Regions from separate parts of the Homo sapiens genome. Here regions 1 and 3 are each linked to region 2. The links are contacts of gene promoters, found by promoter capture Hi-C in blood cells and fetal thymus (Javierre and others, 2016). All regions are on one chromosome and are shown on one strand. Each heading gives the region's core, a stretch centred on a gene start or on the middle of the fragment in contact. The rest is flanking DNA. Distances are from core to core; before and after follow the strand shown. Region 1 has its middle 14 kb from the start of PRSS23. Region 2 holds the start of ME3 (malic enzyme 3). Region 3 has its middle 57 kb from the start of PRSS23.

The links. Contacts are between HindIII fragments. The CHiCAGO score rates a contact against its expected background, and 5 or more counts as called.
Region 1: a fragment that was not itself captured here is called in contact with the fragment with the promoter of ME3 in region 2 in 2 of 17 cell types (megakaryocytes and endothelial precursors); the score reaches 8.3 in megakaryocytes.
Region 3: a fragment that was not itself captured here is called in contact with the fragment with the promoter of ME3 in region 2 in 1 of 17 cell types (M2 macrophages); the score reaches 7.3 in M2 macrophages.

Annotation. Positions count from the first base shown.
Region 1 is chr11:86,784,737-86,788,923 of GRCh38, forward strand. No RefSeq gene overlaps it. Among named protein-coding and RNA genes, the nearest start is that of PRSS23, 14 kb to the right of the region's middle. The HindIII fragment of the contact is 1,680 bases long and covers 498-2,177 here.
Region 2 is chr11:86,669,578-86,674,320 of GRCh38, forward strand. ME3 (malic enzyme 3) reads right to left here and starts at 3,039. Exons shown (of 15, transcript NM_001161586.3): 1 at 2,747-3,039; 2 at 2,185-2,381. The coding sequence starts at 2,367. The HindIII fragment of the contact is 7,449 bases long and covers 1-3,922 here.
Region 3 is chr11:86,741,757-86,746,039 of GRCh38, forward strand. No RefSeq gene overlaps it. Among named protein-coding and RNA genes, the nearest start is that of PRSS23, 57 kb to the right of the region's middle. The HindIII fragment of the contact is 5,887 bases long and covers 1-4,283 here.

The DNA of each region.
Region 1 (4,187 bases), core at 88-2,587, 110 kb after region 2:
TCTCTTTTGCCTAGGCTAGAGTACAGTGGCACAATCTTGGCTCACTGCAACCTCTGCCTCCCAGGTTCAAGCGATTCTCCTGCCTCAGCCTCCCAAGTAGCTGGGATTACAGACAGGCACGACCACATCCAGCTAATTTTTGTACTTTAGCAGAGATGGGGTTTCACCACGTTGGCCAGGCTCGTCTCGAACTCCTGACCTCAGGTGATCTGCCTGCCTCAGGCTCCCAAAGTGCTGGGATTACAGGCATGAGCCAAACACTTTTCAAGTAGACATTTTCTTTTTAATAAAACAGAGCTCAAATTTAACAGTCTTATGATGGGATTCAACATTTTTCCTTCATGCAGCTCAGGTGTGAGTACCTGGCTTTAAAGCAAATCCAGTATGTGAAAATGGGGATGCGTACCCATCAGTACTGGGGCAAGAGATTCACTTCACAGAATGAATGCTGCTTTTCTTTACCGGAGGAATTTTCATAGTATTCTCTGGAAGGCATAAGCTTTCCTCATACCCATAAACACTTAGTAAACTTTTAATTTAGGTACACTCTTTAGATAAGTGCTGTATAAAGAGAAGATTCAGATCAGGCAGATGGTGCATGTTATTTTTCAAGCAATTACCTTATTTCAAATTAAATCCAAATGATTTTTCAACATCTGGTTGGCATTCAGTGCCTTGCCTAGATTGTTCTATTTTAAACATAATGGAGTCTCACTATGCTGCAGAAGCTGCAAACTGCTGGGCTCAAATAATTCTCCCAACTTGGCCTCCTGAGTAGCTGGGACTACAGGTATGCATCACCGTGCCCTGCCTAGATTGTTTTGATGTAAAGCTGCTTCAAGGCTTAGGTTAATAGTTACTCCTTTGTCACCCCTCAGATAATCTGTACCCTTTTCCCAGACTTGAAATCTTTTTAGCATTTATGTAGGTTTGTACTCTCCAGTTTGAATACGGCCCTAGAAATAGTTTTGGTTTTATTCATTTTATGAGGTTAGCCATGTGCCAGGCCCTTAAGAAATGCCTTAAAAAATATTGCAGTTGATGGAATGAAAAGAAGCTGTCACTGTTCCGAATCATGTCTTTTGGTTAGGAAGAATTCATCAGAATGAGATCTGATCTTGGTCATAGGGCAGCATTTTATAGTGGCCTATACTTAGGCTGTCTTCATGGGCAAATTATTAAAATAAGAATAAGAAAGACCAGATATGAGTCCAAGCCAATCAGCAATGATCTCTCGTAGCCAGAGAGATTACTTCAGGAATGTGCAGGTGACCCTGCCTGGCCAATGGGAATCGGGGTCAGGATAGTTGTTGGAACTGATGAGGGAGACAAACTCTCTTTTCTGCTGGTTTTAATTCTGGGAAAATATAAGTTAAAAGCATCTGCAGATTACCTTAAAGTGAAACCAGCACAGAAGAAAAACTGAGTGGTAGAGAAGCCCAAATCCTGATGATGTTTCTTGAGCCCTGTAGTTCAACAGTTCCAAGGCTAGACCTATTTTGGGGACTTTTCAATTAAGTTAATAGGTAAATTTACTTTTTTTTTTTTTTTTTTTTTTTTTTTTTGATGGAGTCTCCCTCTGTCGCCCAGGCTGGAGTGCAAAGGTGCAATCTCAACTCACTGCAATCTCCACCTCCTGGGTTCAAGCAATTCTCCTGCCTCAGCTTCCCCTAGTAGCTGGGATTACAGACATGCACCACCACGCCTGGCTAATTTTTGTATTTTTAGTAGAGATGGAGTTTCAACATGTTGGCTAGGCTGGTCTCAAACTCCTGACCTCAAAATATCTGCCCGCCTTGGCCTCCCAAAATGCTGGGATTACAGGCGTGAGCCACTGTGCCCAGCCTAATTTACTTCTCTATTTAGGCAAGTCAAGTTTGGGTGACTTTTTTTTTATCACTTCCTAACGAAAGGTCCCTGATTCCCCCATTTCCCCAACTCTTTTTTATATAAATTACCAAGACCTAAGGTTTCTCCCTCCAGAATATCACATATCCATTATGTCATCTCCATCTCAATGTCCATAATCTAGTTTGGGTTCTCATGAACTCTTGCTTGAATGTGCAAACTCTTAGTTTGTCTCTCAGCCTTCACTTTCTCCCCTTGCACTTACCTTTCCAGAAGCTGCCCGATTAATCCTTATAAAGCACAGATATTATGAAGGCACACTGCCCAAAAGCTTTTGCTGACTTCCATTGCCTACTGAATAAAGTTCAAATTCCTGAGTATGATATTTCAGCCCTTCTATATTCTACCTGCAATCTTTACCTTTCCAACTTTTATATTTTGCTGCATCTCTCATGTAATTTATACTCAAGGATTATGCTTTCCAGTTGGGTATTCAAATTTTTGAAGCAAGTTTGATATACGTGAACAGATGAACTTGCTATTTCCATATCCAAATCTGACAGCTTCTAATTCAAGTGACACCTTGTCCATGAAGCCTTCCCTAACACCACAGCTGAAAACTGTCTCCACCCTCTGAGCAGTTACAGCCCTTTGTCCCTTCATTACTGAGCTATTACTTCCTCTTATCTTCCTACGTTTTATTATAGCTGCTTTATCTAGTCTGCTTTCTAGAATTTTTAACTATTAGATAGTCACTGTCCTTTCAGCAGGGTCTGTTTCAGATTTAATTTTTTGTGTACCCCATCACCTCCTCCCATGGTAATATTCCATACATGTTTACTGAATTGGTATAAATGAAGGGATGAGAAAGGTGTATAATAGCTTCTTAGAAAACTTACTTTTTGATGACTACTTTAACTTATAAATAACCAATCTTATTGACCTATCCTAATTTATATATAGATTTCCTGTTGAAGTTCATCCGGACGCTTGAAAATTGGCTTTCTAAATACTAAATTTCATACTTTCCCCCTATTTTACACTATTAATCTGCCAGCACAAAAGTAAAATTTAGGTAAATCTTTGACAAAACTCATACAAATTCTAAACTATCATCTTGATGAGATTAAGTACCACAGATGAGTTTAATTGAAAGTGTCTCATGATCAACAGCTCTCTTTGAATCATGTTAATAGAAGCAATAACATGCATTTAAGTAGTGTGTTACACTTTACAAAGTGTTTCTACAGACATGACTTCATTCCTGTTTCACAACAACCTGGTGAGATCAGTAGGGTGGGAATTGTTGGCCCTGTTTTACCAATAAGGAAAAGGTAAGGTCTAAAAGAGGCTACCCAATTAGCAAGTTTCCATAACTAAGTAGATGACAGAACTAGGACTAAAACCCAAGATCTCTGAACCCTAGTCCAGACCTCTTCCAATTATTCCACACCACCTACCTTAGACTAACTGAGGTAACTTCATTCCCTTTCCAGTAATAGGTTTAGCAAAGGATGTATTATGACTATTGAATTCCAGCCATTGCAATACGAGGACAGGTGTGGGGAGTGGTATAAATTTGTTGCTCCTAAGACACATAAGAAAAGCCCCCTTTTGATTGTCTCCTGGATATAATTATACATGATGTTTGCTTGTTTCTCCATCTTGTCGCAAGCCTGAGGGCTGAGCCAATGCAGAAGAGGGGGCACCAAGAGAAGCAGAGAGGGAGCCTTGAGTGCCCCTCACCTGCAGCCACCCTGACCTTGAACTTCTTGATATGTATGATTTTTCATTTCCTTATTATTTTTTAAGCTAGAGTGAATTGGGATTTTCCATTACTTGCATGTAAAAGCATCTTAACAGAAACAACATAGGAAACCTTATAAGAGAATTTGGGATAGAGAGTCCTGGGTTTTCATCCTCTCTCCAACACTCTGAACAGAGAATGTTACTTAACTGTTTGGAGCCTCAGGTTCTTGCCAGTAAAAAGAGGGATTCGAGCTACTACTGCTCAGGGTTATCCGGTCAAATGCAAGTAGTGGGAAGTATCTAGCACAGTATCTAGCACATGATGCTATTATTATAATGATTATAAATGATCATTATTATTAAGATGGACTCCAACTATATCAGTGCCATAGGTACTTTTTTAAAAGTGCAAAAGTAATTTGGTGCAAAAGTATTTGCGGTTTCGGACTGTGAATTTTAAATTATTATCGCTAAGCTCAAACACATCTTTATTAATCAAAATAGGAACCATTACAGTTAACGCATTTTTGCCAACAAGTAATAAGTTTGTTTATTCCTATAGCGTAAAAATCTGTGCTTCAGGATTTGAT
Region 2 (4,743 bases), core at 1,789-4,288:
TCATTCATTATCACGAGAACAGCATGCAGGGGAACCACCCCCGTGATTCAATTACCTCCCACAGGGTTCCTTCCACAACACGTGGGGATTATGGGGATTATAATTCAAGATGAGATTTGTATGGGGACACAGCCAAACCATATCAACAACTTATTTATAGTACTTGGGAGAAAAAAATTTACATCAGAGGCAAACGACAGGGGCAAGAATGATTTCAGGGGACCAAAACCTAGGTTTTAAAAAAAGACTTAAAGATCTTCCTTCATTTTCTTAACTACTTAACAAAGCAATAAATGCTGGTTGGTAACATGCCAGTAATTCTAAGGCAATTATTTTCACAATGATTGGAGCCTGTAGTGGGAATTTATTGTTTTGCTTTCTACATCCATTCCTCCTCCTTCTGATGACACTATCCATATTTACTGTGAGGATCTATATTCCCTTTATTCCAAGCCAGATGGTGTGGGTGGCCCTACCTTAAACCCCATTTTAACTCCAGGGGTGGGCTCTGACCGGCTTTAATTACTGGTGATTGGTTTTGGTTTGGGAATGGGAAGAGAGAATCTAATCAGAGTCAATAAGGCAGAAGGATTCGCTTTCTGAGGCGTCAGAGAAAGGGTATTTTCTCTTCCCCAAGAGCTACCAGAATAAAAGTATCTTTCTATTCCTGGATGATGTGGTGTGAGAACAGGAGATGGAGGACTGTGGCAATAACGAAGTGAGAGACTTCACTGAATAGAGCTTGAGGATGAAACTGACCTTGCAGAGAGGCAGAGTAGAGAGCCAGAGAGAATCTGCATCTTGAGCAATGCCATCTGGGCTTGTGGTTCAAGCCGTGCCTGCAACCCTTCCTCTAGATTCTTTAGATAAAGGAGCCTTTGTGTGCTTAAGCCAGTTTGTATTTTCTAACGCTTACTAGCAAAGTAATTCAAGGTGATAACAAACACCTTGAACACTTTGGAAAGTGGTAGCGTCCAAACAATTTAAGGTTTCTTTTGGAAAGAGCAGGACTCCAATGTGATAGAGGTTGATTTTGATTTTTTTTTCCTTAGCCGCTTCTATTAGTTCTGTAGGAAACAGTCACAATACTTCACATTATATAGTTGTTCCTACTTCTCAAAAACATCTTTTCCATACAGACTGCCTCACCTGAATTTCACAATCCAGAGTCAGAGCAATTATGAAAAAAAAATTTATTTTGCAGTAATTGTTATTCAGCACTTTATACAGTTTAAAATATGATTTCAAGTTCAGTGATTCATTTTATTGTCACAATAACCAAATGAGATAGAAATGGTGGGTCTATCATAATATCTATTTTAGGCTGGAGAAAGTTGGGCCTCAGATAAGTTAAATGAGATATGTGAGTTAATTTGAGGAGGTAGGGGGAGACAGGACTAAATCTGTCCTTGCTTCTATTTCTCTCACCCAATCCTCTGAACCAAAGATACTAAACTCTATTCCCAAAAACAAATACAAAAGAGCTAGCGGTGGGTTGAACTCGACCAAAGCATTGGAGATCTGGATTCCAGTGGCAGAGCCAGAACTAACTAGCTGGTGACCTTGGGCAAGTTTCCTTTGTCTTGTTTTTTGTAAAAGAAGAGGTTTAAACTAGGATCTCTAATGCTCCTGCAAGCTCGAAAATTTCTATAAGTCTAGACTTTTCCATCCTTGCTCTCAAATTAATCTTTTTCTCAGAATAATAATCATAACCTTATTTATTCTCCCACTGGGTACCAGGCACTGTTCTAACGTACCCCCATTTTCTACCCGCATTTTCTCTTTAGATCTCACGACATTCCTAAGACAATTATATCTCTTTTACAGATAAGGAAACCTAGGCTCATGTAGGTTAAATGAACTGCCCAAGACCAATAAAATTAGTAAGCATCAAGGGGAGAGCTGACCGCAGGTCAGACTGACCGCGAGGATCTAAACCTGGTCTGTGTTGTTACTGCAGAAGAAATTAGGCTCCCTGCATTACTGGTCGCCTCTCTCCACGCATAAAAGGGAGAGGAGGGACAAGAAAGCCAAACCAAGTCACAACAAGCCCCTGCAAGGCAAAAACAGAAAAACCGCTGGAAGGGCGCCCGGGAGGATCCTTTCTGGGTCCAGGGGGCGGGGCGCAATTTTCCGGCAGCCACGGGATCGCAACGCGGGCCGTCCTGCCCTCTGGCCCATTACCTTGTTGAGATGAGGGTTCCTGGTGACATCGTATCCGCGCTTCTTCAGGGGCACAGGGCGCGCCGGGCCAGGCTTGGAGTGGCAGCCTTGGGCGGGCGCGGTGGGTGTCCAGCGCGGGAGGGCGCCGCAGGCCCGGCCCGGCCAGGGAGCCAGCCGCGTGCCTGTCCCCAGCGCGGCACCCATGGTCCTTGGCAGACCTGGCACGGGAGAGAAAGCAAGGTCAGGGCCTCCTTCCAGCCAGCCAGGACCCACGCGCGCTGCGGGGCACCGGGCCTGATCCGGGGACGCGCCCTCTGGGAGAGGGCAGGTGCTCCCAAAGGGTTAAATGTTCCAGCCCCCGCCACTCCTCGGCTGCCACCTGCTCGGCTCCGCGCGGGGCGCCAGGCCTAGCCAAGAGCCAGGCAAAGCGAAACCAAGCCCTGGAAGCAGATCCGGTGCGGGTGACAGCCGGCGCCACCCCTGCCCCCATCCCTGTGAAAAAGAGGCGACTGCGCGGCGAGGGGTCCCCGTACCCCTAATCCCGCGTGGTGGCTTGCCTCGGTCCTCTCCTTCCCTGGCCCACCTGCGCTGCTCGGGGAGCTGAGGTCTACGCGGTCCCGCTGCGGAGCAGGCGGGGTGAGGAGCTGCGGTCTGTGAGTCCTCTCCCGCCAATGGGTGGACCGCGCTGGCGGCCGCGAGCTCGCGGAGCTGGTGAGTTCCTCAAAGAGCGGTCCCACAACCTTTGTTCTCAGTGCCTGGCTTCCCCTGAGGACGCGCGTGGGGCGCCTCAGCACTGCGTGCACGTGGTTTTCCCCAGTGACAAGAAGCAGCTCAGAATGCCCGCCTGAGACTCTCCATCTTGGCAAGACTAAATGCACAGAGGGGGATTTGCGTTTGGGGGTCAGCATATCCTCGCACTCTCCCAACATTCGGGGAAGGGCGTGCCTTCAGGATTTGGAGTAGAAATCCTCAGGCATTCGGTGCTCAGTGTTGCCTTGTGCTGTCCAATATAATAGCCATTCGCCACGTGTGGCTATATAAACGTAAATAAATTAGTCTATATAGAATAAAATTTAACATCCAGTTCTGCAGTCACGCTAGCCACATTTCCAGTTCAAGAGCCACTTGTATGCAGATACAGAACATTTCTGTTTTTGCGGATACTTCTATTAAGCATCATTGACATAGGAGCCACAGTTACTAAGAGGACTTCTGAGGACCCCATGGAGTTTGCCATGGGTTATTGGGGCCAGACAGGGATCTTGGGGTCCATCTAGCCCCAAACTTAATTTTATACTTTCTCCACACAGTAGTCAGGAGATTCCTTTTAAAGCAAACACTTTGTTGTGTGTGGAATAAAATCCAAACTTTCAGGGCCTACAAGATTTCCCATAAACTGGCTCTTGCCAGCCTCTTCAGACTTATCCTACTCTACTCTTTCCTTCTCACTGATCTCTGGCCATACTTGATCCTTCCTGTGTCTTCACCCCACTTGGTTCCCTCCCACTGCAGGGCCTTTGCACTTGCTATTGCCTCTCCTTGGAAGGCTCATACTCCAGCCTTGCAAACCACTACTTCATTCCCACCTCTCAGTTCTCCACTAAGTTGTCAACTCGAAGGCCTTTCCTCTATCCCATTCAATGTCAGCCTGCACTAGGAACTATAGAGTGAAGGGGTTTTTCTCTTTAGAGAACTTAACACAGTCAGTAGCGCGCTTGTTTTTCTGATTGTTTACTGACTATCTCCTGTCTAGAATGTAAGCTTCATGAAGAGAGGCTCTTTGCCTGTGAACCTGTGTGTCCTCACTGCCTAGCTCACTGCCTGGTATGTAGTTGCACAATAAATAGTTGTTAGGTGAAGGGAAGTGGCAGCCACTTTCATAAGGATCGTGAACCCTTAGACTTACTGACAGACAGTTGGCACGGTCCTCTGCTGACACCCCTTCAAAGCTCCCGGTGCCAGCATTAGCCCCGTTGTAAGTACCAAGCAGACATCATGGCCCATAATGTGCTAAGGGGTGCTCCTGCCTGAGTTCAGGATTCCCTCATCCCTTCAGGAATAATCGTCTCCTCCTGCAGTCTCTCTCCTCCCTGTGTAATATCTAATTTTCAACTTGAATGATCTACGTAAAATAGTTATTTCCAAAACAGAATTACAATTACCTGGTAGGAAATAAGGATGGGGCAAAAATACAGCTTTCCAGGCCCCATCCATGAAGATTCTCATCCAGTAGGGTTTACATCCCTGAAGTCAGGTTTACTCTTGGACTGCATATTTACATAAGCTTATAAATGATCTTTTTTTCTGCCTTAAACCAGTTTGTGTCAGATGTGTGATTGTGTGCAACCAATAGTATTAACTAAATCCTTTCAACACTATTTTTATATTGGCACTTCTTCCCACCAGTCAACATCTTTGGGGGGCAGAGATCATGTGTGTTTCCATCTTTGGTATCTAGTGCATGCAAATATTTGGAAATTGATTGTTGAACCAGTTTGCCCTTGCTGAATACAATGACCTTTCCCTCCCCTGGAGGATATCTAATAGGTAACTTTAGTCATTTGAAACCAGGATGTAAAC
Region 3 (4,283 bases), core at 1,567-4,066, 72 kb after region 2:
ATAGAGAATATTAACATAAATAAAATACAGCTGCTGCCACAAAGAACACATCTTTCAGTATGGAAATAGTGGTAAGCAATCAGTTATAATGCAAGATGGAGTGCTATCATAGAAGTGTATACAAAATATGAGATGCAGAAAGAAGGAATGGAAAGGTAGGGATGTGATCAGGCTCTAAGAGAAAAGTAAAGATGTGTATTAGTAATTAGGTCAACAAACCAAGAAAAACAGACAAAACCTTTTCTGGTTTGTATAACCAGTATGTTGAACAAGCATGACTCATGGCATAATAATACACTGTTGACTTCTCCTGTCCTGGACCTCTCCTGCCCCACTCTCTCTCTCTCTGCTGTTTCAGATCCAACACAGTTAAAGCCATGGGCAGGAGAAGAGGTAAAGCAATAGTACAGATTTGACTTGAGTCTGGTCTTTGGCCAAGGGAAGCATCCCCTGGGTGAGCCAGAGCAGCACTCTTCTCATAGGGGCCATGCCATGGGTTGCTCCCAAGTCCCTTTGTGGGACCTCTGTCCTGCAGTCACCTTGACCCTGACAGATGTGTCGCCATTCCTGGAGCCACTTGAGGCATTGAGGAGCAGCACATTTCCAATCTTCCTGCGAAAATCCCTTCACTTCTCTCACAGGCACTTTCAGAGAAGATCTAAGATGGCCCACAGAACGGTTCTCTTTCTGGTGTGTCCCACATCTAGTGCATAGGAAATGACCTTGAACAACTCTGGGAATGCATTCCAAACCCACCCAGCACACCTCCTGGTTCCTGAACCTAGACAGCAAGTTACTCCTCTCTCATCCTCTGCCCACAGCGGGCAGGAGCCAGGACCCAGTCATGGTCTGCTCTCCCAGACATTACTCAGGACTAGTTCTCTATGGTCCCTCGTGCAAGAAATATCTTTTCACGTTCTCCTGCAGCACCTCCATGCCTCCCTCTAAGGGAGAGGGCTGTAACAGCTCTCTCCAAAGGAATCTCTTCTCTAATTCTCTCTCCAAGCTGGTCCCTCTGACCCTTTCCTCTACTCTTGACCTGGCTGAGGGCCAAGACTGAAGGTACATGAGCCCTTTTCTTGAAAATCCACATCTTGGGGATATGTTGTCATGCTCATTTTTTTAATCTTGATATTGATCATATTTGGTATGTCAGGTGAACTAATGGCAAGAAGTAGCCCATTCCAAACATCTTATGTCCCATCGCTGAAACAACCCATACTGGGAATGGTGTCTCCCAGGATGCTCACCTGAGCTGTGTTCTGTTTGTAAGTAGGCAGAGGATGGAGACCTCTTGAAGACCTAATTGTTCCCAAGATATAGTCTATGCTCCCCATCACATAAACTTCTGAGCTCCTTGGTCAAATCCGAAATGAATTTTTCATACCAGAGTTTACCCAGAGGACTGTGGGGGTGGGGTTGTGACCTGGATGGAGGACCGGAAGCTGTCCCAGTTTACTCAGTGTAGCTCGGAAAGGACAGGTTTGAAGTGAATCCATGTTTCTTCACACAGATAATTTTTTCCTCTTCAGAGTACTGGTCCACTCTGACAGCCCGTTGCCACAGAGCACCACCCACAGAGCAGAGGATCCACACTCAGTATTACATAGCATCAGCAGAAACAGAGGCTGACCCCCTTGGTGAGGCCACTTCAGTTTCCTTGTTCTTGGGCCACCCATGAGCACCTCTGACAGTTTAAAAGATACTCTTACAAGCCAAAGGAGAGAAGTATAGCCCAGGATTCCCAGGATTCCCTGGGAGCCCAACAGTCAAACTCTGAGCCCTGCGTAGGCTGTGAAAACTGAGTCACAGGTTGGTGACTCACTGGCTTGAGACCACACCATGAGTCAGGCAAAAAAGGCTGGGGACAAACTTTTATAATCTAATTTCTCCAGACTGCCTCTAGAGAACCACCCTTGAAAAAGAGCAGGCTCTGGGGTAAATGGCTGGGAAGACTTGTTGAGACACCAAACCGCGCATCAGAGAATAAAGACATACCTTGGCTTGTTGCATGTCTCACCTCACTGACAGCTTGCGGTTGTGTGCAATAGATTCTAATGTTGTTTTGTAATTTCTAACCCCACTTACTGGTAACAAATTCATCAATCACTTCAGATCTGCTGGCTGCCCTTAGTGACTCAGTGTCATTCATTATCCCCTAGCAACTGCTTATGCTTCAGTGTTTATGAAACCCTGGTGCAGAAAGGCTGTCTGGGGACAGGGGAGGTGACATAGAGCAGTGATTAAGGTCACAGGCTTGGTTATTACACAAACCTGGATTTAAATTCCGGTGTCACATTTGATAGGATCTTAGGCAAGTCACTTGCTTCATTTTTTCCATTATTAAAACAGAAATAACAGTGCACTTGAAGAGTTGCATGGAGGAATAAATGAAATCCTGTTCATAAATAGCCTGGAATATAGGATATGCTTTATAATTGATTAAATATTATATTATTCATTAAGGATTTATTTCCATTAATGACTGCTCTTCCTCACAATTTTGCTAATTGTTTACAATGTTAAATAATCATTTATTGGGGTACAAAAAAATTAAGTTTTTGCCAATATACAAAAAAATCAAACAGCAGCAGAGATCTAAACTACCATCAGCACACATAGCCCTTAAGAGAAGGACTGGCCGGGTGCGGTGGCTCACGCCTGTAATCCCAGCACTTTGGGAGGCCGAGGTGGGTGGATCACGAGGTCAGGAGATTGAGACCATCCTGGCTAATATGGTGAAACCCCATCTCTACTAAAATACAAAAAAATTAACCGGGCGTGGTGGTGGGTGCCTGTAGTCCCAGCTACTTGGGAGGCTGAGGCAGGAGAATGGTGTGAACCTGGGAGGCGGAGCTTGCAGTGAGCTGAGACCGCGCCACTGCTCTCCAGCCTGGGCGACAGAGCAAGACTCCATCTCAAAGAAAAAAAAAAAAAGAAAGAGAAAGAAGGACTACAGTTGGTCCATTTTGCATCTTTGGGCATGACACAAAGTGCTCAAAAAGTGGTTATAAATAAATAAAAGGCTAAATGGTGAGTATTTCCACACTAAACAGTTTTGGAGTTTGTGTCATCCACATTTGAGCACTTTCATTCATCAAGTAAGAAACTTCAGCACATCTCTGCATTAGACATTATGTGAAACACAACCTAGCCATCCTCCACACACAAAACAGTATAAACACAAGCACACTCCAGGGTGTGGAGGGGTTTCAAGGCCACAAAGTGATACTTAGGCTTAGGATGGTCCTGAAAAACATTTTTGAGACAGAATTGGTATTTGAGTCTGTTTGGGCTGCTATAACAAAAACATCAGAAACTGGATGGCTTATGAACAACAGAAATTTATTCCTCACAGCTCCAGAGGTTGGGAAGTCCAAGATCAAGAAACCAGCAGATTTGGTGTCTGGTGAGGGCCTGTATTCTTGTTCATAGATGATGCCTCTTTCTGTGACCACACATGTGGAAGCAGTAAATGAGCTCCCTCAAGGCTCTTTCCTAAGGGTATGAGTCCCATTCATGAGGGCTCTGCCCTGTAACCTAGTCACTTCCCAAAGGCCCCGCCACCTGGCACCATCACTTGGTGAATAGGTTTCAACCTACAGATTTGAGGGGGACACAGCATTCAGAAAATAGCAATTCAGAACTGGGACTGGAGAGAATAGGCAGGATGAGGTGGGACATCAGGAAGCAGGAGAAGCTCTGGCAAGGGCTGGGAGAGACAGAAAATGCTGAACATATAGAGATCAGTGAGGTAGTGGCCCGGCCAGCCTGATCTGGGGCATTTGTGAGAGACGAGGGTGAATAGTAAAAGCCTTGGAGGGAGAACACCTCACCCACTGGAGACAGTCTCTTGTGGTCTTCACCAGCTGGACCTCCCAGGTGAGAGTAGCTTGCTCTTCCTTTCGCTGTGGGGTGGAGACATAGGATAAAGGAGGTTCTATTGACCACATGTTTTATGACATTGGCCCAGTCACTTCCCTTCTCTGGAGCTTGAATTCCCTCAGCCATGGGATAAGTGGGTTGACCTGATCTCAGGTTCTACACTTCAGTATGCAGATGAATCACTGGGCGAGTGAACTAAAACAGATCCCTGGGCTTGACTGCTAGATACAGAATCCTAGACTTGGGTTGCATTTTACAATGCCCCCTGCCACCCCAACATGTAATTCTAGGAGGTAGAATTCTAGCACAAAGTTTCACAAACTTTTCCAATACGAGGATCAATTTTTTAAGTCAAAAAATTTCCAAAACCACCTCTATGTAAATGTAGATTAATTCTT